Regions from separate parts of the Homo sapiens genome. Here all the other regions are linked to region 2. Evidence: promoter capture Hi-C in 16 types of primary human blood cells and fetal thymus (Javierre and others, 2016). All regions are on one chromosome and are shown on one strand. Each heading gives the region's core, a stretch centred on a gene start or on the middle of the fragment in contact. The rest is flanking DNA. Distances are from core to core; before and after follow the strand shown. Region 1 holds the start of CDX1 (caudal type homeobox 1). Region 2 overlaps PPARGC1B (PPARG coactivator 1 beta). Region 3 holds the start of SLC6A7 (solute carrier family 6 member 7).

The links. The method cuts DNA at HindIII sites, captures the fragments that hold promoters and counts their contacts. A CHiCAGO score of 5 or more calls a contact.
Region 1: the fragment with the promoter of CDX1 here is called in contact with a fragment that was not itself captured in region 2 in 1 of 17 cell types (endothelial precursors); the score reaches 6.4 in endothelial precursors.
Region 3: the fragment with the promoter of SLC6A7 here is called in contact with a fragment that was not itself captured in region 2 in 1 of 17 cell types (endothelial precursors); the score reaches 6.7 in endothelial precursors.

Annotation. Positions count from the first base shown.
Region 1 is chr5:150,164,477-150,168,732 of GRCh38, reverse strand. It overlaps CDX1 (caudal type homeobox 1), which reads right to left and starts at 1,955. Exons shown (of 3, transcript NM_001804.3): 1 at 1,412-1,955. The coding sequence starts at 1,856. The HindIII fragment of the contact is 7,821 bases long and covers 1-4,256 here.
Region 2 is chr5:149,827,817-149,832,166 of GRCh38, reverse strand. It overlaps PPARGC1B (PPARG coactivator 1 beta), which reads right to left. Exons shown (of 12, transcript NM_133263.4): 4 at 1,284-1,400. Among named protein-coding and RNA genes, the nearest start is that of MIR378A, 97 kb to the right of the region's middle. RefSeq lists an enhancer at 321-530. The HindIII fragment of the contact is 987 bases long and covers 2,601-3,587 here.
Region 3 is chr5:150,188,792-150,193,483 of GRCh38, reverse strand. SLC6A7 (solute carrier family 6 member 7) reads right to left here and starts at 3,422. Exons shown (of 14, transcript NM_014228.5): 1 at 3,124-3,422. The coding sequence starts at 3,156. The HindIII fragment of the contact is 12,060 bases long and covers 1,590-4,692 here.

The sequences.
Region 1 (4,256 bases), core at 706-3,205, 340 kb before region 2:
GCACAGACTTAGTGGTTAGTCCACCTGGGTTCAAATCCCAGCCCCACTAGTTACAGGTTATATGGCCTTGGGCAAGTACTTAAACTCTCTATGCCATAGTTTCTTCATCTTAAAATGGGGGTGATAATAGTACCTACGATGATGTTTTAAGAGTTAAAGGAGTTAATGCATGCAAGATCTTACTTAGGTCATGCCTGGTCCGTTAGTTAAGTGTTCCAAAACATTAGCTGTTATTTAATCAAGGCCACAGAAGCAAGTGGCAGAGTCTGGTTCCCTGCATCTCCCTGGAGGCAGATAGGAGGTTATGTATCCCCGGGACTTCCAAAAAGGGGATATGATTATGGCCAGAACCCGTAGCTCCTGATCAAGGCCAACCCAGCATCTGCCCCGAGGCAAGCTGGGTGTGTGTGGGGAGATGGGGGTGAAGAGTGCGAGGAGGTGGGAGAAGTCCCAGGATTATTCGCAGCTGGGGTAAGGGGAGGAGGGGCTGGACATCAAAGGGTGGGCAGGCCAGCTTCCCGCCCCCAAGGCTAGGTGGCCTTTGTCAGGACAGGCCGGACACAGTCCGGACAATGGAACGTCGTGTTCACTTTCCGGCCAACAGGAGTCACTACCGAGCCAAGGCAGAGCCAGTTGCATGACAAAGGGGGGACCCATAACGGAGGTCAAGCCGCCCCTCATTAAAGTTGGGCCCTTTGTCCTGCCCCCTACCCTGCCTTTGAAGAGGGCGGATCAGAGAGGCCTGCCTGGGGGCAGGAGGTTCACAGGCTCAGGAGCCAAACAGTAGCCCCCCTTCCCACTGCTCCCGCTTCCCCTCCCCCGGGGTCAAGAGTTCAGGGAGGACCCTGAGAAGGTAAGGTACAGACCCCTTGCCCCAGTCTGGCCAAAGAGGGCTCTTTTTCAGCCTGAAGGATATGACCCAGCAATGTCTTGACTGTGTGATGGGGAGACCCAGCCCTGGCCAGGAAAGTCACCTGCCCTGTTCACACAGTTAGTTAATCGTCCCTTCTGGGGCGAACCTGCCGCCTTTGCCTAGGGCTGGGTTAGGAGTGGAAGAAGCAGATGAAGAGCACGGAGTCGGTGTTGCTAAATGAGTGTGGGACACGAGTCTGGGAGCCTGCGTTCTAGTTCGGGTCTTGCTCCGCGGCCGCAGGCGCATTTCCGCACTTCGCAGGGGGTCTCGGTTTCCCTATCTGTACAGAGAGAGGGTTAGGCTGTGCTGCTGAAGGCTCCGATAGCCTGAGACTGAGGAGAGGGAGCCAAAGAGCAGCCCCCCAGGGCGAGAGTGGACAGGAGGGCCACACTCCCGGGAACCCGAGCAGGGCCGGAGCAGAGGTCAGACAGGGGGCGGCCTGGGCCGCGCCCGAGCACCTGCAGGTCCAGAGGCGCAGGGCGAGGGAAGGGTCCTTACCGCTGCCACCGCCGCCTCCGGCCGCCACGCTGCGCCGCATCCACTCGTAGGGCGTCGGCCTCTGCGCTCCGGGCGAGGACGGTGTGCCCGGGCCCCCGAGGGGCTGCGCCAGGAGGCCCGGGCCGGGCCCAGGGGGCGCCGGCACCGGGCTAAAGTCTGGAGGGGGCCCGAATGCCAGCGAAGCTGGGCTGGCGGCAGGGGCCGCGGGGCCCGGGCCGTAGGCGGCGGCCCAGTCGTCCTTGGGCGCAGGGAAGGGCGCCCCCCAGGCCGTCGGGGGCGCGGGGGCCGGCTCCACGTGAGAGTAGCTGGAGAAGTCGGGGTACTGCGGGGGCGCCGGGGGCGGGGCCGGGGGGCCGTAGGCTTGCGGGCCCAGGCCGAGGCTGGCTGGCCTGGCTGGGCCGGGGTACACGGGCGAATCCTTGTCCAGCACATAGCCCACATACATGGTGGCCGCGGGGTCCCCCGCGCATGCTGGGCCCTGGAGCCGCCGCTGCCGGCCGCCCCGACGACGAGCAACCGCTCACCTGAACTCGGCTGTCCTGCCGCCGCGCCCGCCCCACCCAGGCCTTTTATAGCTCCGGGCCGCCCGCGGCCCCAGCCGAGGCGGGTTTGCATTTCAAAGCGGGGGGAAGCCTCCGGGCCGCGAATCAAAGGGGGAAACCCGTCGGGGGCGGGGGGTTCAAAAGGAGACAAATTGCCGCCCCAAGCGGGAGGTGGACTGGCCAGGGCCTGGAGGGGGTGGGGGCGCGGAGGGCGCGTCTTGGGCGAGGGTCGAGGCCGCGCTGCGAGTGGGAATCGCTTGCCAGGGAGCGGCCTAGCGGCCTGAACACCTTGTCCTTCCGGTGGCCGCGTGGACGGCCCTGCAGCCCCATTTTACAGGCGGAGGAACAAGCTCCCAGGGGCCGGGGGATTCTAGGCCAACTTCACACAGTGACCAGCTTGAGGTGAGGGGCAACGCAGACTTCAAACAGGGCTCCGGTCTGTAGGATCGCAGGTCCTTAATCTTTTGGCGGGGAGGGGTCACGACCCCTCTCGTCATGGAAGCTGTGGATGTTTTTCCCTGGGGAAATGCACATATGCACATACATACACGAGTCTTCCTTACAGTTGGGGGACTGCCTGGGTTGGCCTTCTAGAGAAAGTTCTCAAAAGGCAGTGTGTGTGTGGGTGTGTGTGTGTGTGAGTTAGGGGGGTCTTCTGGGGACATTACAGGAAACTTTTAGTAAATTATCTTGATGACTCTCTACCCTCTTTTTTTAATTGAGAGGTTTCAAGCATACACAAAAGTAGAATTGTATAATGAACTGCTGTGTACCCATCACCCCGCTTCAACAACTATTAAGGTTTTGTCACACTTATTTCACCTACTCCCCGCTTTTCTGAAGTATTTTAAAACAAATTCCAGACATCATGTCATTTTACCCCTACATACTTCAGCACGCATCTCTAAAACACATGGACATTTTCTTACATAATATGCCATTATCACATCTAGCAAAATTAACACAAATTCCTGGGTATTACCTAACACACAGTTCGTATTCAAAGTACTCCAATTGATTCAAAAATGTCTTTTTAGCAGTCTGTTTGTGTGAATCGGGATCCAAAAGCCCTGATCCATTTATTATGGCTGGAGCCCCCTTGGGATTTTAAATGCATCACGTGTTCCTCCACTCCATATGAAGGACTGGCAAACATTTCATAGCTACCTAAGGGGGAGTGGGGGCTGGGAACACTTGAGGGGGTGTCAGTGAACTGGGAGTGGGGACAAGGCTGAGGGATTTGGGGAAGGGTGCATGAAGGACAGGGCTCTGGGTCAGGAAGTCAGATGGGGTCCCTCCGCACAAGGGCTTTGTGCCAGGGAGCTGTGCAGAAGCACCCTGTGGGATTGGATGGGCCCACATTTCCTGGGTTCCTCTCATTGTGCAGGGATGTGTGGTCCCCAGAAGAAGGTCAGAATCAGGGTCTTATCTGTTCAACCCGTCTCTCTCTTGGGTCACCATATTAGCCGGGGGCTGGTCAGTATCATCTCAGGGCTGGGCAGATGTTTCGGGATCAGGACATAATTTGCAGGGCCGGGAGCAAAATAAAAAATATAAGGTCCCTTGTTCAAAAATGATTAAGGATTTCAGGATGGTGGCAGCAGAGCATTCACCTGAGCCCGGGGCCCTTCCACACACTGGGCTCTGTGTGACTGCAATGGTGACCCGCCTGGGAAGCTGGCCCTGGTGAGACTCTTGCTCTTCTGGGGCTCTGATATGTGATAGAGCCAGAGACTCAGCCAGCACAGGGCTCCCTCCGCTTCCTGCTCAGAGGAACCCTTTCCATTGCACAGGTAGAAGCATTGAGGCTCAGAAAGGAAAGGAGTAATGCCCAGTGTTTGCTGCAACATGAAGGCTGCTTGTAGGAGAGGGGAAGGGAAATCCTGGCTGTTGCTGACCGGGCGGAGCCCTTGGCTACCTTGCAGGAGCACATGGCTGTCCACATGTGTGTGGATCAGCACATGACACAGATGAGCACATGGCTGCCTCAGCAGGGAAGATCCCACTTTCCCAGGTCAGGAAGTGGATGCGGTGCTGAAATGTTTCTCTGGAGCTCTGGGCTCTGCTTAGGACTCAAGTTTTCAAGGGATTGGTGGGAAACTGGCAAGTACACAGAGGAGGGAGAAGAGGCCCAAGAGGACTGAACTCCACTTTCTGAGCTGAGAGAACTGGGACTGCTTGGACTGAAGGAAGAGAAAACCTGGAGTGGGGTCTGAGTCTGGGGAGGAAGACAGGGCAGACTTGGGACCTCAGGGAGGAAACTGCAGGCTACAGATGTGGATTTCAGCCCACCCATACGTAAG
Region 2 (4,350 bases), core at 1,845-4,344:
CGGCTAATTTTTTGTATTTTTTAGTAGAGACAAGGTTTCACCACGTTGGCCAGGCTGGTCTTGAACTCCTGAGCTCAAGTGATCCTCCCGCCTCAGCCTCCCAAAGTGCTGGGATTACAGGCGTGAGCCACCGCGACCAGCCTGAATGATGGATATGTTCTAAAACTGGATAATGGTCACAATTGCATGGGTATAAGTTTACTAAAAGTCATAGAATTGTTTACAATAGGTGGCTTTTATGTATGTAAATTGCACTTCAATAAAGTTTAAAAAAACAAAAAATTCAGTAGCTCCTAGTGCCCACAGGATAAAGGGGAGGCTCCATGGCTGGGTGTCTGAGGTCCTCTGCACTCGCACCAGCCAACCTCTCCAGTCTTATTCGCCCCGCTTGTCCACACTGGGGCTTTCCCCCCAAGTGTGACTCATCGTTGTGCTGGGACTTTCTAGCAATGGCTGTCAGATGCATCTCACCTCTCTGGGGAGCTTCTTAGGCTCCCAGAGGGCAAACAGCTGGCTCACAATGGGGTGTGGCTGCTGCCCCTTCAACAGAATGAGGCACGAGAGGGTGGACCTTTGTTTCAGGAGGGTCAGCCAGGACAAATAGGGAGGGAGCATAGGGACTCATTCCCCAGAGAAGCCCCAGCAAGGGAGAGGCTCCTACACTGAGCTGCTGTCTGAGAGGTCCCGATTCTGCCTCTGAGGATGTAGGATTGGATGCAACAGTTCCCAGGAGAAGCGTCCAGGACCAGGAAGAGGAGGGGTTGTGTGTAGCCTTTGAGGACAGGACCCTTTGAAAAACACCTGTTACGCCTCTTCTTGTTAGGCTTGGAAGATGGGGCTCAAGGAGGAAAAGGGATGTTCTTTGACCCTGGATGTCTATGGCAGAGCTTTAAACCCTCCAATGGGCTCCCTGAGGGGGGAAAAAAAATCCAAACTATTTACTGTGGCCTCCACAACCAGCGCAATCTTGCATTTTGGTCTGTCACACTGTTGGAATACAGTCCTCTGAAGCCTGGCCACACTTTCCTCATCCTTGCTCTAAGCTGCATTAACATCTACCAGTGTCTGGAACACTAAAGTGTGAGAAAGTCCAGGGCTCCTTCCAGAAAACCCTAAACTAGGCTGGATCTCCAGAAGCAGTGCCCAGGACACCAGCTACAAGGGCTGTGGGAGGAGTGGGAAGAGATATTGGAGGTTGACTGAACTCGCTATCCTCCACCAGAGCTGAAGGCTGCAGCCCCAACAGACACCTGGGGTAGATTTGGGGGCATGTGAAGAAATACCTTAACACAAGGCCGTTGACTTTTAGATCTGAGGCCTGCCTGGCGCCAGGCGGTCCCTTCCTTCTGGGTGTCAGAGCTTGATGTTGGGTAGGATGTGGCCAGGAGGAGCTTCTGCAGCTGAGGGAAAAGCAGAGAGGACAGGAGCCGGGGCTGAGCCACAGCCAGAGGACATGGACTGCATGGCCAGCCCCTCAGGACTGACCTTGGGCATCACAGGACCACAGGGAGAACACAGGGTGGGCATTCCATGACCTGGGATGATGATCCCAAGATACTAGGTGCAGATGGTAGATTGTCTAACAATCCCGAACACACGTAAGTATGCTAATAACATACAAATCCTTTTCAGAGTTAATAACCCCAGGGAATAGCTATGACTTAGAAAAACTCAAGCAGGTCTTGGGTAACGTCTGTCTATTCTACTGTTAAAATATTATGATACAGTTTTATTGGGACATTCTGAGTGCACACACACACACACATACACACAATCTGGAAGGTTAGGTACCAAAATGATTCTCTGGTATGGGATTCTAGCTGATTTCCCCTTTGTTCTTTCTGTTTATTCATATTACCTCTAAAAATTAATTTCTTAAATTAAGCAAGGTAATACTTGTAAATGATTAAAAAAAAAAAAGAAGACACATCACAAATACTAAAGGGCAGACAATTAAAAGCAAGTCTCTCTCTTGCTCAAAGTCCCCTTCTGCCTCCTAGAGGCAACTCCACTAACTACTTTTCGGTGAACCTATCATGAGGTGGGCTTTCATTATGCAAGTATATGTATGTAGTCATTACCTCCAACCCACCCTGTTTTTTTTTTTTTTTCTTTTTTTTTTTTTTTTTTTTTTTTGAGATGCAGTCTCTGTCACCTAGGCTGGAGTGCAGTGGCAGGATCTCGGCTCACTGCAACCTCCACCTCACGGGTTCAAGCGATTCTCCTGCCTCAGCCTCCCAAGTAGCTGGGATTACAGGCGTCTGCCACCACACCCAGCTAATTTTTGTATTTTCGTAGAGATGGGGTTTTACCATGTTGGCCAGGCTGGTCTCAAACTCCTGACCTTAAGCGATCTGCCCGCCTCGGCCTCCCAAAGTGCTGAGATTATAGGCGTAAGCCACTGTGCCTGGCCCTACCCTGTTGTTTTTACACAAGTGGAAGACTACACTTAAGCTTGTTTGGCTTTTTTTTTTTTTTCTATAAAAACTGTAAAAGCTCTTCTGCTTCTGCACCCTGAGGGCAGGTACAGAGTGTACCTGAGCTGAGAGAGCAGGAAGTTGAATACATCTAGATTTTCCGCCGGAGATCCTAGCCAAGCTTGATAACAAACTGAGAAAGATCATGAGATTTTAGTACAGCACGGAGAGTTTCCCTGGGGAACATGCCACCCCAAGTCACTCCAACAAGGAATGCCAAAGGCCAGGAGCCAGAGAAAAGGCCACTCCACACTCTTGAGGAGCCACAGGATCCTGGCTACCCCACCTAAACCCCAAACCAGCACCCACATGTTTGTGACTTTTTCGATGGGAAATGATCCTAGGACTGGGGGAAAGAGACCTCATTCTAGCCTGGCTCAGGCCCGGTGCACTGTGAGAGCCTTGATTCCTCCATTGGTGTAATGAGCAGGGGCAGAGAGACTACATGGCTGGATTAAAACCTCTTTTTTTGACTCTAAGAATATGACAGAAGTTGCTGACCTCAGAAAATCACACAGACACACAGAGGTCCACAGGTCCTTACAAGTCCATCGCTGGACTCTCTGGGATCCATGGCCCAACCTGAGGTCCAGATGACTTCTCAGGGCCTTTTTGTTTGTTTGCTTTTTGTCTTTTAAAGAGATGGGGTCTTGCTCTGTCACCCAGGCTTGAATGCAGTATCATGATCCTAGCTCACTGAGGCCTCACACTCCTGGCTTTAGAAAATCCTCCTACCCCAGCCTCCAGAGTAGCTGGGACTACAGGCACGTGCCACCATACCGGGCTAATTTAAAAAAAAAAAAAAATCATAGAGATGGATCTTCCTATGTTGCCCAGGCTGGTCTCAAACTCCTGGCTTCAAGGGATCCTCCCACTCAGCCTCCCAAAGTGTTGGGATTACAGGTATAAGCCACTGTGCCCGGTCCCTCAGGGCCCTTCCAGATCTCTGTCGGTATGCAGGGAGTCTAGACAGCAAGTCTGTTTCCTGTGTGCCTTGCACAATGGCTGAAACAGAGGCACTCAATAAGCATGTAGGGAATGAAGGTAATCTAAGGCATGGGAGGGAAACAACCTTTGACCAGCAGGGGTCGCGCTTTGCCTCTTTAAGCTTTGGTTCTTCTCCAAAGGCCCCGTGAAGAAATGGCACTAGAATGCTTGTTACCACTAATGGTTGTACCAGAAGTATTAGTTCACATTTACTGAGCAACTCTATGTGCCAGGCACTGTTCTAAGTGCTTTATGTGTATTATCTGCTGTAATCCTCCTAATAGCCTTTGACATAGGCACTATTATTAACCCCTCTTTATAGATCAGGAAGCCGAGGCTTAGAGAGGTTCAGGATGTATGCCTAAGGGACATACAAGTACTAAATGGCAGGGCTGGGATTCAAACCTAGGTGCTTCGATTCCAGTCTGAAATGAAGCAGGACCCCCTCTCGGCAGGAGCCATAATGTGGGACTGAACATATTCTGTGCCTGGCATGGTGGGTGCTTCACGCTGCTTTGGGGAACTTGAAGGCAGTGGGAAGGAAGGGAAAGGGTCCTAGACTAGGAGTGAATACCTGAGTTCTAGTCTTTGCTGGCACACTGACTTGCTGTGTGACTACTGGAGATACCCTCCCCACTCTGGGCCACAGTTTTTCCAGAGCTGGGCTTGAGGGTCACCAAGGGCCTTTCCAGCTCAAACTCTCCATAACCTAAGAACCCTCCCGGCTCCAACAGGCTCTGATTTTCTAGCTGAGTCCTGCCAGCCTCCAGGAGCCACAGCACCAAGGGAGGGGCCCAAGACAGGCTGAGCAAAGCTAGACTTCACACTCCAGGACAGCTCAGCTATGGGTGCTCTCAGCCCGGATTGAGAGCGACTGCTTCCAGTA
Region 3 (4,692 bases), core at 2,173-4,672, 360 kb before region 2:
AAACCCCACCAGGCAAGGTAGGGAGAGCCTGAGGGCTGGGTGAATTTTGTGAATTTTGGCTCATGAGCAGGAAGAAGGTACTTAAGCCGTGATCTGTGTCAGAAAGTCATAATCTTGCTGTCCCTGGAGAGGAGATGCATGCCCAGAGGGGAGCGGAGGCCAGCTGTTCCTAAGGTCTCCTTTCATGCTTCAAAGTGGGTGAGAGGTCCATGGGGCATTCTCCCTTAGGAGACCCTCAGTGATGGTGACCACAGTGGTGATTTTGCCAGAAACTGGCTATTGGCCACAGGGGCCGTGGTGACAGGAACAGCCAGACATTATTATGGGTGACGATGACAATGACAGAGCATGAAGAGCTGTTTTTAAAGTAACTAGGCTGCAAGGGGTGAAACAAATACATGCCTGGAAGTTCTTTAGCTGTGATCATGGACATGCTGAGGTGACAGGAGCAGCAGATCCCAGACTTAAGTGAAACCCACCCTTCCCCTCCAATGCCCCGTTCCCTGAGGCTGCCTCTCCAGCTGGGTGAGCATCAGCCTTCAGCAACCTCTCACCCCAGGTGAGCTCCGGGAGGAATGGTTGCCACTGTTCCTGGTGTTGGGTGGTGAGCAGGCCTGTTACCCTGAGACACCCCCCGCCCATCCCAGCACCATTCAGGCCAGTTAGCAGGAGGTCCCAGTAATGAGGATCCTCTGATCCCTCCAGAGAAGCTGCCCTTTCCATGCTCATGGAGCGGTCCCGGTTCTCTGTTTCCATGGTGACTAGAGTTCCAAGAGCAGGATGCTGCCAGCTCGTCCCCCTCCTCCCCCAATCAGAGGGAAGCCTGCTTCTGCTCCAGGGGCAGGAGATAGGGTCCTCCAAAGCTGAGCCAATCAGGAGCCCAACTGGAGTTCCCAACCCCACCATGGGGTGAATCCCAGGAGGCTGGCACAGTGAGGATGGGGCTGGTTGGGAGATGGAAGAAAGCAATCAAATAGCTGGGGCAGGGCTGGAAGCTGAATGAGTTGCTTCATACTTCTTCCTGGGTGTAAGCCTCCCACTCCTGAATCTCCCACTCCCTACCCCAGGGGCATGCAGGAACACACAGCTGAGTTTGTCAGACCTGCATGCTCGCCTTTAGGGACTCACAGCAGGGGCTGGGAGACTCAAGACTGCCCAAGCCAAGACTCTTCAGGACAGAGAGAGACAATAGGAATCTGGGGTCCAGCTTCATCATTGTGCAGATTAGGAAACCAAGTTTCAGGAAGAAGGGATGAGCCCAAGGTCAAACAGCAAGTTAAAGGCACAGCAAGACTTGGACCTAGATCCCCTGACTCTAAGTCCAGTGTTCATCTCTGAGCAATGCTGCTCCTTTGCGGAAATCTGGCATTTTCTCATTCCCGCCCAATTCTGCTTGAGAAAAGGGAAAGGACCCTGAGAGGAGGTAGCAACCTAGAACCAACCCTCTGCCCTGTTGGCTCTAGGTTGCCTAGCCTGCCAGCAGGTAAGCAGTGAGTCTCACCCCTCTGTGCCTCAGTTGCCTTATTTATAAAGTGGGGCTACTAAGACCTAGCCCCTGGAAGTGTTAAAGGATTAAATGAGATAAAGCTTGCTAACCCCCCAGCCCAGCACCCAGCAAGAGGGACAGGGCCTCTTGTGGGGAGGGAGGGCAGAGAGGGAAGAGAAGGAGAGTGGAAAAGAATGGAAACAGGACCCAAGAGACTCACAAATGGTCTCAAGAAGTCACTCATGTCAGTGAATAAAAAAGACATACCAGCTGGGCGCAGTGACTCACACCTGTAATCCCAGCACTTTGGGAGGCCGAGGCGGGCGGATCACGAGGTCAGAAGATCAAGACCATCCTGGCTAACACGGTGAAACCCCGTCTCTACTAAAAATACAAAACATTAGCCAGGCGTGGTGGCGGGCGCCTATAGTCCCAGCTACTCGGGAGGCTGAGGCAGGAGAATGGCGTGAACCCGGGAGGCAGAGCTTGCAGTGAGCCGAGATCACACCACTGCACTCCAACCTGGGTGACAGAGCGAGACTCCGTCTCAAAAAAAAAAAACAAGAAAAAGAAAAAAGACACACCACAGTGGTTCCAAGCCCAGCTGCCCCAGAGCAGAGAACTTGAATGAATGAGTGTGTGTGTGAGTGAGTGTGAGTGTGAATGTGTGTGTATGTAGGGAGGTTGATAACACCAGCCCCTGAGAACAGTCTTCTCACATCTACCAGCCCTTTAGCATTCTTCCCCACACCTCACACACCCAGTGGGGCCTGTTTTGGTGCCTCCAGGCTAGGGCTTAGCCAGAGGAGGTTCAGGTTAGAGAATGAACTTGTCCAAAGTCACCAGGCAAGTGGCAGCGGCAGAAATAGTATTCAGGAGATCTGACTCCTTAGTTAGGACTGGTACAAGCCAGAAAACGTCCCCCAGTATTCCCCCTCCCCATATCCTGACAGCTTGGCTGAGAGGTCCAATCCCACAAGGCAAGGTAGGGAGAGCCTGAGGTCTGGGCCCACAGCCACTCTCCCATACCAGCTTCCATCTTCATTGATCATATCCTCCTGCCTCCGATAGCCCCCTCCCTGTCTTTGCCTCCCTTCAGCCCTGCTGAGGGGCAGCCTGGGGTCTCAGCAGGCAAGCTAAGGGGGCGGGGAGGGAGCAGGCAGGAAAGAGGAGAGTCTTCCCGCAGGCTCAGGGAGCCGGCTTCAGTATGGATGACCGCCTCCCACTCCCCACCCCTCAGATGAGTCCAGCTCAACGCTCAGGTATTCCAATACCCCCCACACCCGGCAATCAGCTCCTGGCGGGGAGCAGCAGGGTGGAATTGGGGAAGAGGTGGGTGCCTGGCCCCGGCCGCCCCTACCCCGCGCCTCCGGGGACTGCAGACACCTGTTCATAGGCCTGGCCCAGTGAACCAGGACTCCCCTCATACTACATCCCGAACCCCAGATGGCAGGGGCAGAGGTGGGGGCGCAGACCGTGACCCTGACCCTCCCTGTTATCCAGCTGAGTCGGGCCTTCCCCAGAGCCCGAAGCTGGTCTGGGTGCATCCTCAGACCTTCCCCAGGGGCCTCGTTGGGGGCGGGTCTCTCCAACCCTCCTCCAGGTGCACCCCCAGCGCCCCCGCCCTCGTGCCCTACCTTGCGGAGGTGAGCTCCCTGGAGCTTCTTCATCTTGGAGAGCGGGTGGCCGGGGCTCAGCTGCCCCGGAGCGCAGAGAGCGAGGGCACGAGAGATGGTCCGCTGGCCACTGCGCCTTTGCCCCCGCGGCTCCCGCGCACCGGCTGGGGCGGGCACGGACGCAGGCGCTGCCGTCTGGCGGCTGCGGGCGTGGAGCGCGGGCAGGGCGCTGCGAATGCCTTGTCTGTCCCTGCGCAGCGCCCGAGGCTGGGGAAGGGTGCACTGCTGCGCCCGCATAGACACCCAGACAGACAGCTGACGGACGGACGGCGGGGGGATGCGCGCGCCCCCGCACGCAGAGCTGCGGATTGGAGAGCCCTGAGCGAGTGGGGAGGGGGGTTCGCGACGGAAACCCTCGGCTTTCTGCGTGACCTTGGGCAAGCGACCTGCCCTCTCTGGGACTCCCTTTCCACAGTTGGGCAAGGAACACTAACAGCCCACCCCCCTGCGTCGTCTTTGCTGTGCGACCTTAGGGGATAAGAATCTCTCCTCTCTTACAGGAGTGTGAGCAATTCAGGAAGATGGAGCATAGAAAACATCTAGCACAAAGAGCCTGACACATAGTAGGTGCTCAGTTAACATTTATTCACTGACTGTGGGTTGCCCACGCCACCATTAGTCCAATTATTCAATCTATCAGTATTTATTGAGCACCTAAAATGTGCCAGGTCCTGAACTAGGTGTCCTATTTTCTCAACCTGGAGAGACAGGTGTCGTTACTCCTATTCTACAGATGAGGAAGCTGAGGGACAGGGAAGTTAAGTTACTTACTCAAAGTCACGGGGCTAATGAGTGACACCAGGGACAGAGTCAGGCTTCATGGACCTTTAGGCTAGTAGAGTCTTCAACTCTCCTCCTTTCCTTAAGATGAAAGCAAAATGGGGAGGTTTGGGTGAGCAGAAGGGACAGGCAAGTGCCACAGTGTCACTGTGATCTGTGACTTAGATGATTAGTAACTGGTTTCCTGTCCAGCAGCAGTATGGCTTCTGGAAAGTTCTAATTTCATATCTGTAAAATGGGCCACGAGCCGCCCATGCATTGTTGCCTCAGAATGTTCTGAGGGTCCAGTGAGCCTGTGGCTAGGATGGGAAATGATGAGCTGGAGCAATGGCACACGTTGGTTTGCTGGGACTGACTGATAGACACTAGCGGATCAGTATATACATTACAAATTGTGTCCTTTTCACCCTCGCAAGTGTCCCAGTTTAGACATTAACCATACATCTGTTTGGCTCACTATCAGTTGACACGGTGGGAGGCCTTTGGGGAGAGATGAGAATAAGGTTCTGCTCTCTCCCACCTCTGGAGCTTGAAAAAAGGTTGGAGGGGTTTAAGTCAAAGCATGGACTTGGGTAAAGGCCTGGCCAGGCTCCAGTCCACCCCTTCCCCTGCCCAGGTCCTGTCAAACTTCTCTCCCCTTTGAGCCTGGCCACAAAGGGCAAACCAGGGGCTCTCCAGACCCAGGAGGAAGGTGTCTCCTCTGCCCCCTGCCTGCTGACCCATATGGGGCCAAGAGTGGCTGTGAGTGTG